Linked DNA regions of Homo sapiens: all the other regions are linked to region 5. The links are contacts of gene promoters, found by promoter capture Hi-C in human tissues and cell types (Jung and others, 2019). All regions are on one chromosome and are shown on one strand. The core of a region is centred on a gene start or on the middle of the fragment in contact, and the rest is flanking DNA. Distances in the headings are between cores, read along the strand shown. Region 1 overlaps DENND2C (DENN domain containing 2C). Region 2 overlaps CSDE1 (cold shock domain containing E1). Region 3 holds the start of BCAS2 (BCAS2 pre-mRNA processing factor). Region 4 overlaps CSDE1 (cold shock domain containing E1). Region 5 holds the start of AP4B1 (adaptor related protein complex 4 subunit beta 1).

What was found. The method cuts DNA at HindIII sites, captures the fragments that hold promoters and counts their contacts. A contact is called where the count stands out against the background at its distance.
Region 1: a fragment that was not itself captured here is called in contact with the fragment with the promoter of AP4B1 in region 5 in 1 of the 25 tissues and cell types used here (liver).
Region 2: a contact is called between a fragment that was not itself captured here and the fragment with the promoter of AP4B1 in region 5, in 1 of the 25 tissues and cell types used here (hippocampus).
Region 3: a contact is called between the fragment with the promoter of BCAS2 here and the fragment with the promoter of AP4B1 in region 5, in 1 of the 25 tissues and cell types used here (hippocampus).
Region 4: a fragment that was not itself captured here is called in contact with the fragment with the promoter of AP4B1 in region 5 in 1 of the 25 tissues and cell types used here (dorsolateral prefrontal cortex).

Annotation. Positions count from the first base shown.
Region 1 is chr1:114,660,721-114,663,420 of GRCh38, reverse strand. All of the region lies in intron 1 of DENND2C (DENN domain containing 2C), which reads left to right. Among named protein-coding and RNA genes, the nearest start is that of DENND2C, 8.0 kb to the left of the region's middle. The HindIII fragment of the contact is 3,641 bases long and covers 1-2,700 here.
Region 2 is chr1:114,745,512-114,748,211 of GRCh38, reverse strand. The region is part of intron 2 of CSDE1 (cold shock domain containing E1); the gene reads left to right. Among named protein-coding and RNA genes, the nearest start is that of CSDE1, 11 kb to the left of the region's middle. The HindIII fragment of the contact is 6,146 bases long and covers 1-2,700 here.
Region 3 is chr1:114,580,219-114,582,918 of GRCh38, reverse strand. BCAS2 (BCAS2 pre-mRNA processing factor) reads left to right here and starts at 1,304. Exons shown (of 7, transcript NM_005872.3): 1 at 1,304-1,420; 2 at 1,528-1,620. The coding sequence starts at 1,328. DENND2C (DENN domain containing 2C) reads left to right here. Exons shown (of 21, transcript NM_001256404.2): 21 at 1-69. It overlaps LOC105378914 (a long non-coding RNA gene), which reads right to left and starts at 1,076. Exons shown (of 3, transcript XR_947719.4): 1 at 520-1,076; 2 at 281-394. The HindIII fragment of the contact is 13,820 bases long and covers 1-2,700 here.
Region 4 is chr1:114,721,622-114,724,321 of GRCh38, reverse strand. CSDE1 (cold shock domain containing E1) reads left to right here. Exons shown (of 20, transcript NM_001007553.3): 16 at 320-439. Among named protein-coding and RNA genes, the nearest start is that of NRAS, 6.2 kb to the right of the region's middle. The HindIII fragment of the contact is 4,950 bases long and covers 1-2,700 here.
Region 5 is chr1:113,903,458-113,906,157 of GRCh38, reverse strand. It overlaps AP4B1 (adaptor related protein complex 4 subunit beta 1), which reads left to right and starts at 1,359. Exons shown (of 10, transcript NM_001253852.3): 1 at 1,359-1,553. The coding sequence starts at 1,441. It overlaps DCLRE1B (DNA cross-link repair 1B), which reads right to left and starts at 832. Exons shown (of 4, transcript NM_022836.4): 1 at 383-832. The coding sequence starts at 571. RefSeq lists enhancers at 944-993, 1,024-1,583, 1,664-1,723. The HindIII fragment of the contact is 11,361 bases long and covers 1-2,700 here.

The sequences.
Region 1 (2,700 bases), core at 89-2,588, 760 kb before region 5:
TTTGGAACTTTAGATACAGAGAAATAGATTAACTTGTACAGAGTCAGAATAAAAAAGTATGTTTGAAAAATGTTTTTTGATATTCAGTGTTCTTTACTGAATCAATAAAACATTGATCTTTTCGCTTCAGTGAAAGTGGGGACATTGAAACCTGGGTGAAATAAAAGATAAATTTGAAGGGGTATTCTGCACTGGTTCCCAGAGGGTTGGACAGGATGGAATTTTATTCTCTTTTTCTTCTGCCCTGAATGAATAAGTTTTATCCTAAAGAAAAGAAAACATGATAATGTCTTCACTTTATAAGCAGTATAGCAAATTATAAGACTGAAGGATTAAGTAGATGATGATAAGAGAAAAAAATTTAAAGGACTGACTTTTTCACATCTATCTATTCCAGGTATTTACCCATTTTTTTCCTTCCTCCCTTTCCTTTTCCCTCTTCCTTCTTCCTTTTCCTTTTCTTTTCTTGGTCTTTCTCTGTCACCCAGGCTGGAGTGCAGTGGCACAATCATAGTTCACTGCAGCCTCCAACCCCTGGGCTCACACGATCCCTCCACCTCAGCCTCCCAGTTAGCTCGCATTACAGGTGCACGCCACCAAGACTGGCTAATTTTTTAAAAAACTTTTTGTAGAGATGGGGTCTCAATACGTTGTCTAGGTTGGGCTTGAACTCCCGACCTCGGGATCCTCCCATCTCAGCCTCCCAAAGCGCTGGGGGTACGAAGCCATTATGCCTGGCCCCTATTTTTGAGGAATAAATTCAAGATTTTTTTTTTTTTCTTATGAATCTTAGACTTCTGGTTAGTGGCGTGAAAACAGAGTTTTTAGCATTTAGTTCTGGCAATATTAATCCATTTATATTATTTGAAGGTTGTGCTGTACTTTTTAAAGTTAAATGTCTAACTTTCGTAGTTTTCATAGCAGTGATAAATATTTACAACAAAGGATATGGAGAGAAATTATTATTTTTTTTCCTTCAAGTTTGAATTCATAGAAATGACATATTTGCGGATTTTTTGTTTGGATGTTAAAATTCAGGGACAGATTGGTGGGGGAGAGAGAGAGTTATTTTTGCTGCTACTTAAAAGGGATTTGCATTTTTCTCTGTCTTTTTTTCTGTTGGAGTAAAAAACAAAATCTCCCAGCTGTGTGGGATGTGTTTGAATTGGTTACTTAGCAGTGTAAAGCATAATTTTGTATTTAAATATTTATCTGTACTCTTTGATATTCTGATTAAATAAGGATCTATTAAGGCTATAATAATAGAGCCTTCTGTGAGGAAATGACATAGGCTGCTCCACAACAGTATTTACTGAAAATTTCCTTTTCCCTGGGCCCTATTTAAACTATAAGGGGTAATTGGAACAAAAGGGGAAAATTATGTGAATTAGAGTGATGGTCAATTTAATCATGAGTGTAATGTGATAGCTATCAATGTATAGTTTTATTGACATAAATCAGGGTTGAGCAAAGAGTGGGAGAATTTTGTCTGCTGTTGTTAAAAATGGTGAGTCGTTGAACCAAATTTTATTTTTGAACTTTGCATTCGTCAAGTGTGATATTTTCAAGAGTCTGGTGATAATTGTATTTTTAAATCAAATTGGATCAATTTGCCTTTCAAATTTGTTGTTTCATTATTAGAAGAAAAAAACGAAGTAAAAAATACAGAGGTATGTGCAATGACTGGATCTGGAAGAACAAAAATATTGAGGGAAATGGTCACCTGAGAAAAACTATTAAGACTTTCAATGAAGATTATTTAAAATATGGCTTTGTCAAATGGGCAAAATCTGAGTAAAATGACAGACCCATGTCTTCATATAATGTTGCAAATGAAAATTAAAAACCTTTAAAGTTAAAAAGATTCTTGGAAACATAGCATACTGGACTTTTAAATAAGCCCTTTCAAATATTTTCAAAGAAAGAAAAAGAGATAAAGTTATCTCAGTTTCCTATTTATTCAAGAATCATTCCTGAGAAAGATTATTGTCTCATTTAGTTGTGTATCAGTGGCATAAGGGAAAAATGGCTACATATCTCTTGAAAAAAGTATTCATCTATAATTCATGGAAGTTGTGCTCATGATTTTTGATGCTAAATCAGCTGGAAATTAAAAATTATACTTCTTAGTGATGACATAGCTCTATTCTTTACCATTATTGGACATTTCAGCAGTGCTTGCAAGATGGGTAGAGTCTGGTGCAGATTTTGCAATCCAAATCGATGGGGTCGCTGATATTGTAAGTTGTACTGTGCTTTTAGGTAGTGAAGATAATAAGGAGGATTTTCTTTTCTTTTTTTTTTTTTTTTTTTTGAGACGGAGTCTCGCTCTGTCGCCCAGGTGCACAGTGGCACAATACCGGCTCACTGCAACCTCCGCCTCCCGGGTTCAAGCGATTCTCCTGCCTCAACCTCCTGAGTAACTGGGATTACAGGTGCGAGCCACCATGCCCGGCTGATTTTTGTATTTTTAGTAGAGACAGGGTTTCACCATGTTGGTCAGGCTGGTCTCAAACTCCTGACCTTGTGATCTGCCTGCCTCGGCCTCCCAAAGTGCAGGGATTACAGGCATGAGACACCACGCCCGGCAGGATTTTCTTGTTGTTTAAATTTAACCACAGCTGTATGGGTATATTTACAGAATTTTAAAAAATAAATTGTTGATCCTCAGAAATTAAACTGGGAAAAAACTATTAAATA
Region 2 (2,700 bases), core at 90-2,589, 840 kb before region 5:
TTACAAAAGCTTCACTGCTATTTCAAGAAGCGCTTAGGACTTTATTTCCAATTTATTGAAGGATTATGTAATAGTGTCAGTGACCTTGCTGTGCACTAGAATTATTCCTTAACAACTAAAAACTATAGTAAAATTATCTATGTCTCATAAACAGACACTGTTATTTAATTTTAAGGTAATTGTAGCATTTAGTTTTTCTATTTGTTTCTTCTTACCTTAGCTGATTTTTAAAAAATAATTTTAGACTAATTGTTGTGGATTCTGTTGGATTAGATAGGGAAGATTAACACAAATTGAAACCACAATTTTATGTTCTGAAGCATAAAAGATTAGATTTTTTTTTTTTTCCTCTCTGAGACAGAGTCTTGCTCTGTCGCCAAGGCTGGAGTGCAGTGGGGTGATCTTGGCTCACTGCAGCCTCTGCCTCCCAGGTTCAGGTGATTCTTCTGCCTCAGTCTCCTGAGTAGCTGAAATTACAGGCGCGCATCACCATGCCTGGCTTATTTTTGTATTTTTAGTAGAGACGGGGTTTCACCGTGTTGGCCAGTCTGGTTTTGAATTCCTGACCTTGTGATCCACCCGCCTCGGCCTCCCAAAGTGCTGGGATTACAGGCATGAGCCACCGTGCCTGGCAAGATTAGATATTAAGGCTTTCATTTCATTGACATGATTTATAGAAATAGATTTAACGAAGTCCTTTTTGTTTAGTGTAATCTTTGTATTCTGAATATTAGTTTACTACATGAACATTTTAATATATAAATGCATCCATAGCTGTCTAAAAATTACATGTTTACATATGTACAAAGAAACCACAATTGGGATGAAGATTATTGGCAGTAAAACATGGCTGTGGTTGTACAGTTGTGAAATAGTTCAGTTAAAGGGGGCACACAGCTAAGAAAACAGATTTGGTAATGCAATGGAACCCCCAGATTTTAAAGGGGGGTTTTGTAAAATCAGTAAAAATAGTACGTAATTAGGAACAAATATATATAGAAGGGTAGAATTAGCCATAAAATGGCAAGAAAGAATAAGGCTTATAAAGCATTTGTTTGAGATGTGAAAATAGACCTGAATTGTTTGGTGAATGATTTGATCCAGGTTAGTCTAAAGGTGACAGACAAGAGAAAAGCAAAACTAGAAAATTCCTGTCGCGCTCCTAGTTTTTTCTGCTGAATGCAATAATTTTCATACTTGAAACATAGCAAAGCAAGAGAAAACTGAGGCCCCAGATGAGTGAGAAAATAACAGGATTACTTGGCGGTTGCTAGGGTGCTAGTTGCTAGGTGTGTGATAGTAGTCAAATAGAGACCTATGACAGGAACTGTAAATGTCCTGATTTTTCAGTCAGATGTGGGAACTATTGAGCTTACTTTTCATCCCTAGCAAAAACCCCAGAGCCAGTGAATAAATAACTTGGCAGACTAGCTCATGATAGCATAATGGTCAATATGGAGAAATGTTGGATGGATAGCAGTTAGTAAGAGACTGATTTTAGAGAAGTCTCCAGGTGTATGCTGCCAGATGCTATCCTCGCCCTGCTTTTTTCAGAGACCTAATGAGTAGTTCTGTGAGTACCTATGTGCTACGTAAGCACTTATTTTAGGCTTTTTACGTGCAGCAACTCATTTAACCATCTCAACAACTCTGTGAGACAGGTGTTAAGGTAGGAGAATGAATGATTAAAAGATAAACTACAAAGAGTCTGATAATTTAAAATTAGTCACCAAATTGGAATACTAGATTAACCAACAGAAGGCATTTTAAAAGCATTAGGTTATAGTTTTTTTATTTGGGAACAAACGATCCATTACGGAGGAACTGAAAGAAAACCTGATTTCGCTAATGTGATTTGTGAAGAAATGATGGGGATGTGTTTTAGTTTTACAAAGTTATAAAACTTCAGTCTACAGAATCAAGGAGTGTAATCACTCAGTACTTTATATTGGTCGGGTACATTAAGAATAGTAGTGAAATGCACTTTAATGAATAATTACTTAGAACCTATCCAGAAGACAGCAATTAGTGTTAAAAATGGTTGTGTTCAGAAAATTGGAAGAAACAGTGGAAGTCAAGGGGAGGTATGTCTGAGAATACAGAGTAGTTTTCTAAAGATCTTATGGTGAAATAGGCTACCTTTTCCAAATTGATTGTCAATCAGTAGAAGCCAAGCAGACCAGATTAGGGGGGAAAAACAACTTAGATGTTGTAATAAATTACAAAGCATAGATTTCCACCCCCTCTCCCCAAAGGAACTTGGAAACCAGTTAGGTGCTCCCACTTTACTTTTGAGGAAAAAATCCCAGAGATGTTAAAAGTACTTGAGAGTCAGGACTGAAAGCCAGTCTTTTGACTTTTATGTTCTTCAGGGAACTTTAATCAATTTCTTGAGTTACAAATGAAGTTTAAATTTGACCTGAGATTTGTTCCATTTCTGCTTTTATTAAAGGAGGACTAATTTTGTCAATGACTTTTTCAGTTTAAAAGTAAATATGTAGAAAAGGGTAGAAGGTCTAAACTTTATGAGGCTGGAGATATTTGTCTGTTGTGTTACCTACTATATGAGTAGAACCTAAAATAATGCTGATGCATTGTATGAACTTAATTGTGGTTGAATGAATAAGGCAGTGGTTAAGAATGGAGTCAGAACTGGATTCTGTTCCCACATTTGCCATTTTTAGCGCTGTGCCCTTAAGA
Region 3 (2,700 bases), core at 55-2,554, 680 kb before region 5:
AAAGAATCAAGATTTGTATAAAATGTTGTTTACAGATCTTTTAATGAATAAATACATAAACCCCCCACAGATCCCTTGGAGAATTCTTTAAGATCTTTTATGTCACTTAAATCTATAGCTAGCACATTTACCTAATGGTACTTCGGTAATAAGAATTAGTCTTAGACTGACCAGGCTTAATAACGGAGGTCAACATTTCCAGGCTCTTGGCAGACAAAGGCTGGGTCTAGACTGCACACTGGGCAGGGCATATAGTCTGACAACTTTATTTGGTTTTTACCTGCTTAATCAAAGGGAGGCTGCTTAGTCCAGGAGCCATGCAGAAGAGAGTGCATGGGCAGCAGCTTGAGTGGTTCGGAGGCAGTGAGGAATGCCATTCTATTACCGTTAAGTCCTAAAGGCAAAATGACAGGATTTTTAAGGAACTGAGGTTCCTTTTGATACGCAGACCATAAAGCTTCACAATTTTAATTGGAGACTGGCGCCCAATTCTAGAGTCTCTTTAAAAAATGTACTTACCCAATGCAAAGGTTTTAAGGGCACCGAGGGGGAAGGATAGTTGGGGTACAGCAAGGAAGTAAAAGAGGAATGACCCGGGGTGCAGTGGCTCACGCCTGTATTCCCCACATTTTGGGAGGCCAGGAGTTCGAGGCTAGGCTTGGCAACATAGAAAGGCTCCATCTCTACAAAAAAAATTAAAAATTAGCCAGGCATGGTGGTGTGCACCTCTAGGCCCAGCTACTCGGGAGGCTGAGGTGGAAGGATCGCTTGGGCCCGGGGGGTTGAGGCTGCAGTGAGCTATGATCACGCCACTGCACTCCAACCTGGGCAGCAGAACAAAGACCCTGTGTCTACAATAAAAAAGGAAAAAAGTCTCGCACAGAGGAAGAGAAGATTAAGGGGAGAAGGTGGGAGTAAGCAGAGGTGGGAAACCAGTTTATCTCTCCCCGCCAAATGCTGCAGCCAGTTCCCTCCAAAAGTGTTAAGGGGCTCCCTTTCCAGATATCAATGTTTTGGAGGAAACGAAAAGCCCCAACTTCAAATCGCCGCCATTCGCAGGCAAAAAAAGGGGCAGTAAGCAGAGGACAGGAAATTGAGGCCTTTCGCTGACGCAGACAAGCCAAGACGTTACGTCACGTCCGCCCAAAACAAACCAGCCCGGCAATTTCTAGATACCGGGCGGACCCGCCTTCAAAATTAGCAACTGAGCATGCACTAACGTCAATACGGAGGGAACGTGATTACATCAGTGTCAGGCGCCGGCGTAATTAAATATAACTGAGTTTACGCAGACGCAGAAAACGCAGGCAAACCTGAGGTCCTCAGAATGGCGGGCACAGGTTTGGTGGCTGGAGAGGTTGTGGTGGATGCGCTGCCGTATTTTGATCAAGGTTATGAAGCCCCTGGTGTGCGGGAAGCGGTGAGTGCGGGGTGTCTTTGTAGCTGACTCACTGCTAGCTGGCTCGGTACTGAAAGAAACATGTTACAATTTGCCACTTCTACCCTGGTCCCTATTCTCTTTCTTAGGCTGCAGCGCTGGTGGAGGAGGAAACTCGCAGATACCGACCTACTAAGAACTACCTGAGCTACCTGACAGCCCCGGATTATTCTGCCTTTGAAGTAAGTATGTCTTGAGCCTAGGTGTGAACGAGAATTCCTGTGAACCTTTATTTTGGATTGAGAGCTTTAAATTCCAGTTTTAACCATTGCCTGCATAGCTACTACTTACCTACTGTATAGGTGTCAGTCTATTGAAAACAACTAGATAGATAAGTCTTCTCCGAGGTTCTTATTCTAAGATCCATAGGAAGACTTTCTGGGGCTCCACAACTCACTTAATGCAAAAATTTGTGGCTACCATTCTTTGAGATAGGATCCATGCGTAAATTCTCAAAGGGACCCTCTCCTGCCAAGATTCACTCTACAGCAAGTGATCTAGGGTTTTTTAATATGTATAAGCCTAATTACCTAAGCTCTTTAGAACCACTGGAGAGTGGCATATTAAAGTCTAGTTATTTACCAAATGTATGTGATACGACTGAAAGGACAAACCATATCCAAGTGTATACTACTTTTTTCTCAGCCTTCTCCTTTTTTCTGTAATCTATCCGATGTTTTTATTAACACATTTCTGATTAATGTAGGCAATAATTTTCACTGATATGAATACTTTACAAGTGCTAGGTGCCATTCTAGATTCTGAGATCATAGAGATATATGGGGTTTCTTTTTTAATATATTTTGTTTTCTTTTAATTTTTCTTTTCTTTATTTAAGACAAACATCCTCTCCAAAAAAGATAGGGTTTCTGAATACAGAAAAATACAATACAGTGAGGAGCTAGATATATAAAACAAAAAGTTTACAATAGTATGTATAAATGTGTAATAATATGTAAAGGACCTATAGCGGAGGGTATGTATAAGGACAAGAGGATTAGAGAAGGGAGTGTCCATGATTGCCTAAGGAGTCAGATGCTGTTCTACTCCACACATTGAGTATGATACTATTTTAAATGTATAACCTTGAAGTACACCCAGGATTCTAGTTAGGGTCTAGTTAGCTAAATGAAATGTAAGATATCATTTCTAAATTATTGGATTCAAGTATTTCAGTATGTACAGCTTGGAGGATTTTTTCCCATTATACCTAATCGTTTATTTATGAAAGGATTGTATTATTAAAAGGCAGTATTTAGCTG
Region 4 (2,700 bases), core at 77-2,576, 820 kb before region 5:
TTCTTAAAAAATGACATATGGTCACCTGGAAAAAGTAAGAGATCAAGGCATGTTTTATTTATGAATACTTATTAATTCCTTAAACAATTTTATTTAAACAATTCTATTTAGGAAAAGCAGGCATTTTGGTAGTTTAGAAGTATTTAAAGTCCAGCAGCTGTTCTAAAAATAGAACTTGGCTTCAGGTTCCCTACCCCATTTCAATAGCAGCCAGCCAACCTACCCTGTTAACATTTGTGCTGTTATTTTTTGCTTACTTGTCTTTCTATGTAGTAGAGATGAAATAAAATTGAAAGATGTACCTGCCTTTGTTTTGTAGTGAATGGCATTACTGAGGAAGCTGATCCCACCATTTACTCTGGCAAAGTAATTCGCCCCCTGAGGAGTGTTGATCCAACACAGACTGAGTACCAAGGAATGATTGAGATTGTGGAGGAGGGTAAGGATCATCACTATCAGGCTGTTTGAAATTTGCCATAACTTCAGATGAGCACCTATAAAGTTTTAAAATATGGTGCTTATTGCAGTTGTTTTTAGGTTTAAAACTGAATTAAGGAAAAGTGACCTCTCTCATGCTTGCTTTTTATTTTTATACCCCTTGAAAATGAGGTCAGTCTGGGTTTAAATAGTGAAAACGTGACTGCTTTGTGAGCACATGACTGATACATGAGCAACTATGAGTTATATTGAGATAGACTTAACAACAAACTCTGATAACCAAAGCTTTTACTGTTGAGTGTATGATAATCAAATATTCAGTTCCTTCATTAGTATTTAAATCAGTAAGCATTCAGTTCTGTATTTTTGCTTCCTGTAAAAGTTTACTGTTTTTTTCCCCCCTACACTACACATATGTACATAATCTGTTTCTTAATAGCTAGAGTTCTATGAGGATCCTATTTCTCGTTTCTAGCTCAGGCTTCCTTTCATTCTCTACTTTCTTCTTCTTTTTTCCCCATCTATCTTCAAGAATTCCCAGAGTTCCAGTGCCGCTGTTCCCCCAACAGTCACCATCAGAAAGGCCAACTTTGTATGATCTGTATGCATAAAATAAATACATGATAGAAATAGGAGAGAACTCTGTAGATGATTAGGATAGCAGAATTACATGATGTGGAGTAGATGAGAGGGCTTGAGTATTCCAACCAAAGATGATGGCTTGGTAGGCCGGGCGTGGTGGTTCACGCCTGTAATCCCAGCACTTTGGGAGGCTGAGGCGGGCGGATCACGAGGCCAGGAGTTCGTGACCAGCCTGGCCAGCATGGTGAAACCCCGTCTCTACTATTAAAAAAACTAATAATAAAAAAATTTTAAAAAGAAAAGATGATGGCTTGGTTTACAAAGAGAATAAAGTCCTTGCATCATCTAAGAGTCAGCGAACATAAAGTGCTGAATAGCAGGTCATTTGGGAGAAGGAAATGAACCTTGATAACCTATTCCTTTACCACATGGGATTCTTAGAATTTCTGTTCTACATAAAACCACTGTTCTCCCACCTCTAAATATGAATTTTTAAACAAATGCCATGACATCACACCCCTAAAAAGGCCATGGGAGTATGGACTACTAACTTTAACTCATAATATGATATCAAATTGCCCTTCCATCTCCTAACGTGCTGCTTTTACTTCCTTTTCCATCCCCACTTCCCAGTCCACTCATTCTTCAGCACTGGCTGTGGGATATAGTCCAAAGCAAGGGTTTTATTTAGGCATCTCTAAGCCTGGTGGGATATAGTCCAAAGCAAGGGTTTTGTTTAGGCATCTCTAAGCCCGGGACTAGACAGATTACATTTTCCCACTTGGTAAGAACTAGCTCTTTTATTCAGGAACACAACTGTAACTTATACTAAGACTTTGAAGTTGGGCAGACCTAGATCTGGACACCGTTCTAGCATATAATCTTGGACAAATAACTTAAATCTTTGCTAGCTCAGTTTCTTCATCTTTAAAATGGTAATACCTTCAGCCTTAGATGGTTCTATAAAGTATGAATCAGTATGTGCATCATAAATGGTAATTATTGATATTGCATGAGGTCAGACCAGCTTCCTCTAATCACTCTTCCCATGACTTGATCTCTTTGGATTATCTCCTCAAAGTTTTTTGGTTCCTGTATTTAAAATTAAAAGTCAGCTGGGGTCGAGAGTAGGGGCTCACACCTGTAATCCCAGCACTTTGGGAAGCCAAGGCAGGCAGATCACCTGAAGGTCAGGAGTTCGAGACCAGCCTGGCCAACATGGCGAAACCCTGTCTCTCCTAAAAATACAAAAATTAGCCAGGTATCATGGTGGGTGCCTATAATCCCAGCTACTTCAGAGGCTGAGGCAGGAGAATCACTTGAACCTGGGAGGCGGAAGTTGCAGTGAGCTGAATCATGCCACTGAACTCCAGCCTGGTTAACAGAGCATGACTCCGTCTCAAAAAAAAAAAAAAAAGTCAGGTGTGGTGGCTCACACCTGTAAACCCAACACTTCGGGAGGCCAAGGTGGGCAGATCACTTGAGCCCAGGAGTTTGAGACCAGCCTGGGCAACATGGCAAAACCCTGTCTCTACAAAAAATGCAAAAATTAGCCAGTCATGGTGTGTGCCTGTAGTCCCAGCGACTCAGGAGCTGAGGTGGGAGGATCACCCGAGCCCAGGAAATCAAGGCTGCAGTGAGCCGTTGATCGCCACTGCACTCCAGCCTGGGTAGCAGAGC
Region 5 (2,700 bases), core at 110-2,609:
TTGAACCCGGGAGGCGGAGGCTGCAGTGAGCCGAGATTGCGCCACTGCACTCCAGCCTGGGCAACAGAGCGAGACTCCGTCTCAAAAAAAAAAAAAAAAAAAAAAAAAAAAGGCAAGTTTGGGAAACATCGGCCTAGCTTACTTATAAAGGTAGGAATAGTTTCCTTGGCTGGATTAAAATATCTCCTCAACTTATGGCTAACTATCTCAAGTTGGTCACTTCGAAAACACGTTCCTATTCTGGGTTAAAGATGCATTTTTGGGTTCAAACAACTTCCAAATCAGTTTTCGTGGCCCCCATTCTATGACTCCAAGAATGACAGGTTGAAGTCCCAACCCAGATGCCTGGACCAGCTCTCGGAGACCGACTCCAGCCCCATACCTGTAGGTGACGATGCAAGAGGTGGGCTGTAATTGGGGAGCAGTAGAGGGGCCGGGCCCAGGTGCTAGACAGGCCCACGGTGTGGTCCGAGTGCATGTGAGACAAGAAGAAGAGACGTGCGGTGCCAGCCCGGCGCAGGCTCCAGAAGTCCACTGCGATGGGCGTATGGGGGATCAGGACCCCATTCATGGTGGTAGGGTTGGAGTCACCAGTGGGATCTTCTCCACGGGGGCAGGGCTCCTGCGTGAGGCTTCCACAACGGCGTCCCGATAAAAGTCATGCTGGGGCAAGAACAGGGCCAGAGACCCTAAGGGAAAGAGCCCAGCAGAGCAATAAGTTACCAGAGTGGGCAGAAAAAGGAAGTCACCCTGCCCGCTGGAGCCCAAATCGCGGAGGGCGCTGGACACTCCCAACCGCGCGGGAGCGGAGGCCGAGCCGGGCACTCAAAGCGCGCGCTGCAGGGAGGAGACAGGCCAAAGTAGCCGATTTCCGATTGCCCGCCGCAGCTCCACCAGAGGGAGCCGCGCAGCTGCGCCTGGAGAGTGAGAGGTTGGGGGAAGGGCATCCTAAGGTCGGAGTCGGGACTACGCTTAGCGCTCGCTCGCGGGGAGACCGGCAGCGGTCTTCTGTTTGGTCTCTTGACAAGGGGGCGGGACTTCCGCAGAAAGCAAGATTGGGCCTATCCGCGATGAGAACGGCGTGGAGGGGGAATTAAGGCTGGAACTGGAGAGGGAGGGGTCTGCGGTCAGTCGGACGCGGCGCTGGAAATCCGGCGGAGGACCTAGAAGTAGCGGGAGCGATCTGTGGGCGGGGCGAACGGCCTGCCGGCCGACGGTAGGGCCTGAAGAGCCTAGGGTGGGGCTCGCGGTGTCGCGGAGGGCGTGGAAGTGTGTCAGGGCCAGCGTGCCGGCCCTACGGAAGCCGAGCCTGAGGCGAGATCTCGCCTTTTGTATTTTCACTGACTCATATTTCCTTTACTCAGGCTCCCACATCAGGACGAGAAGGAGCCCTCGAGTTACCGTGGGAGCTGTGGGAGCTGCCCTGTGACTCTTAGGAAGATGCCGTACCTTGGCTCCGAGGACGTGGTGAAGGAGCTGAAGAAGGCTCTGTGCAATCCTCACATTCAAGCTGATAGGCTGCGCTACCGGAATGTCATCCAGCGAGTGATTAGGTATCACCTACCTCCCTTCGCGTGCTAACTGCTCCCTTTGCAATCCCCATCAGGGCTCACTAGCCCCAGTCTCTCTGAAAGGGTGAATTAGCTTTCACACGTGGCAGTTATATGGTTCGGTCTTCGTCCTGCTGCTTTGGAGTACCATGTCAGTCTCCCCTCTGCAGCATCTTTTACTCAGCTGGGTAGTTTCCTCCATATCACGGGCTTGAGCAATTACTGGTGACTCTTGGATCTATAATATAGCTAGTACAGACTTCCTTTTTTAGCTTCAGACCCACGTATCCCACTGCCTGCTTGGCATTTCCACGTGCGTGGTTTATCAAAAGTATGTCCGAAATAGCCCGGACATTCTTCCGTCTTCCTCAAACCTGTTCAGCTTACATTTGTGTTGATGAATGCCACCAGCAGCCGACTATGCGTGGGAGCCAACCTTGAGGACACCTGATCTCTCACTTCTTATGTCAGATGGTTTGAATTCATAATTCTAAATATCCATCCTCTCTTGTTTATTAGCATTGTTGTTCTGGTCCAGGCCTTCATCAATAAAGCAATTGCAGCAGCTTACTAGTAGGCCACTTTGCCTCATTTGAGACAGAATTTTTCCATTATACATACCTGAACACATAACTCTTGCCTACAGCTATGGTTCACAAACTTTACTATGCATAAAAATCCCTTGGGGTGCTTTTTGTCATCCAGTCCAGGGACTGATTCTGATTTCAGTAGGGTGGGAGGGAACCCAGGAATCTGTATTTTTAATAAACATTTCAGTTGGTTCCAGTAGGAGACCAGTCTGAGAAACAATAAAGTCCAAACTTATCACAGCACCCAAGGAACAAGCTGTTAATTCAACTACCTACAGACTCTTAAAAAAATGTGTGCTGCTCCTGCTCATGTCTACTTACCTCATAGCATGTATCTTTACCTTGCTATTACATCTGCCTAGTGAGCTCCTGCTCATTCAGCTAAAGTATTACTTCCTCTGTGAAGAAACATTTTCTGACTTCCTGCCAGTGTCAGACCTCTGAATCCCCTCTACACCTTGTACAATACTTCTGTTTAAGTACTTATCTATCATACTGTAATTAACGGTATTCTCATCTGGCTCATTAATAGATTTGAAGTTCCTAGAGGTTTGAGACCA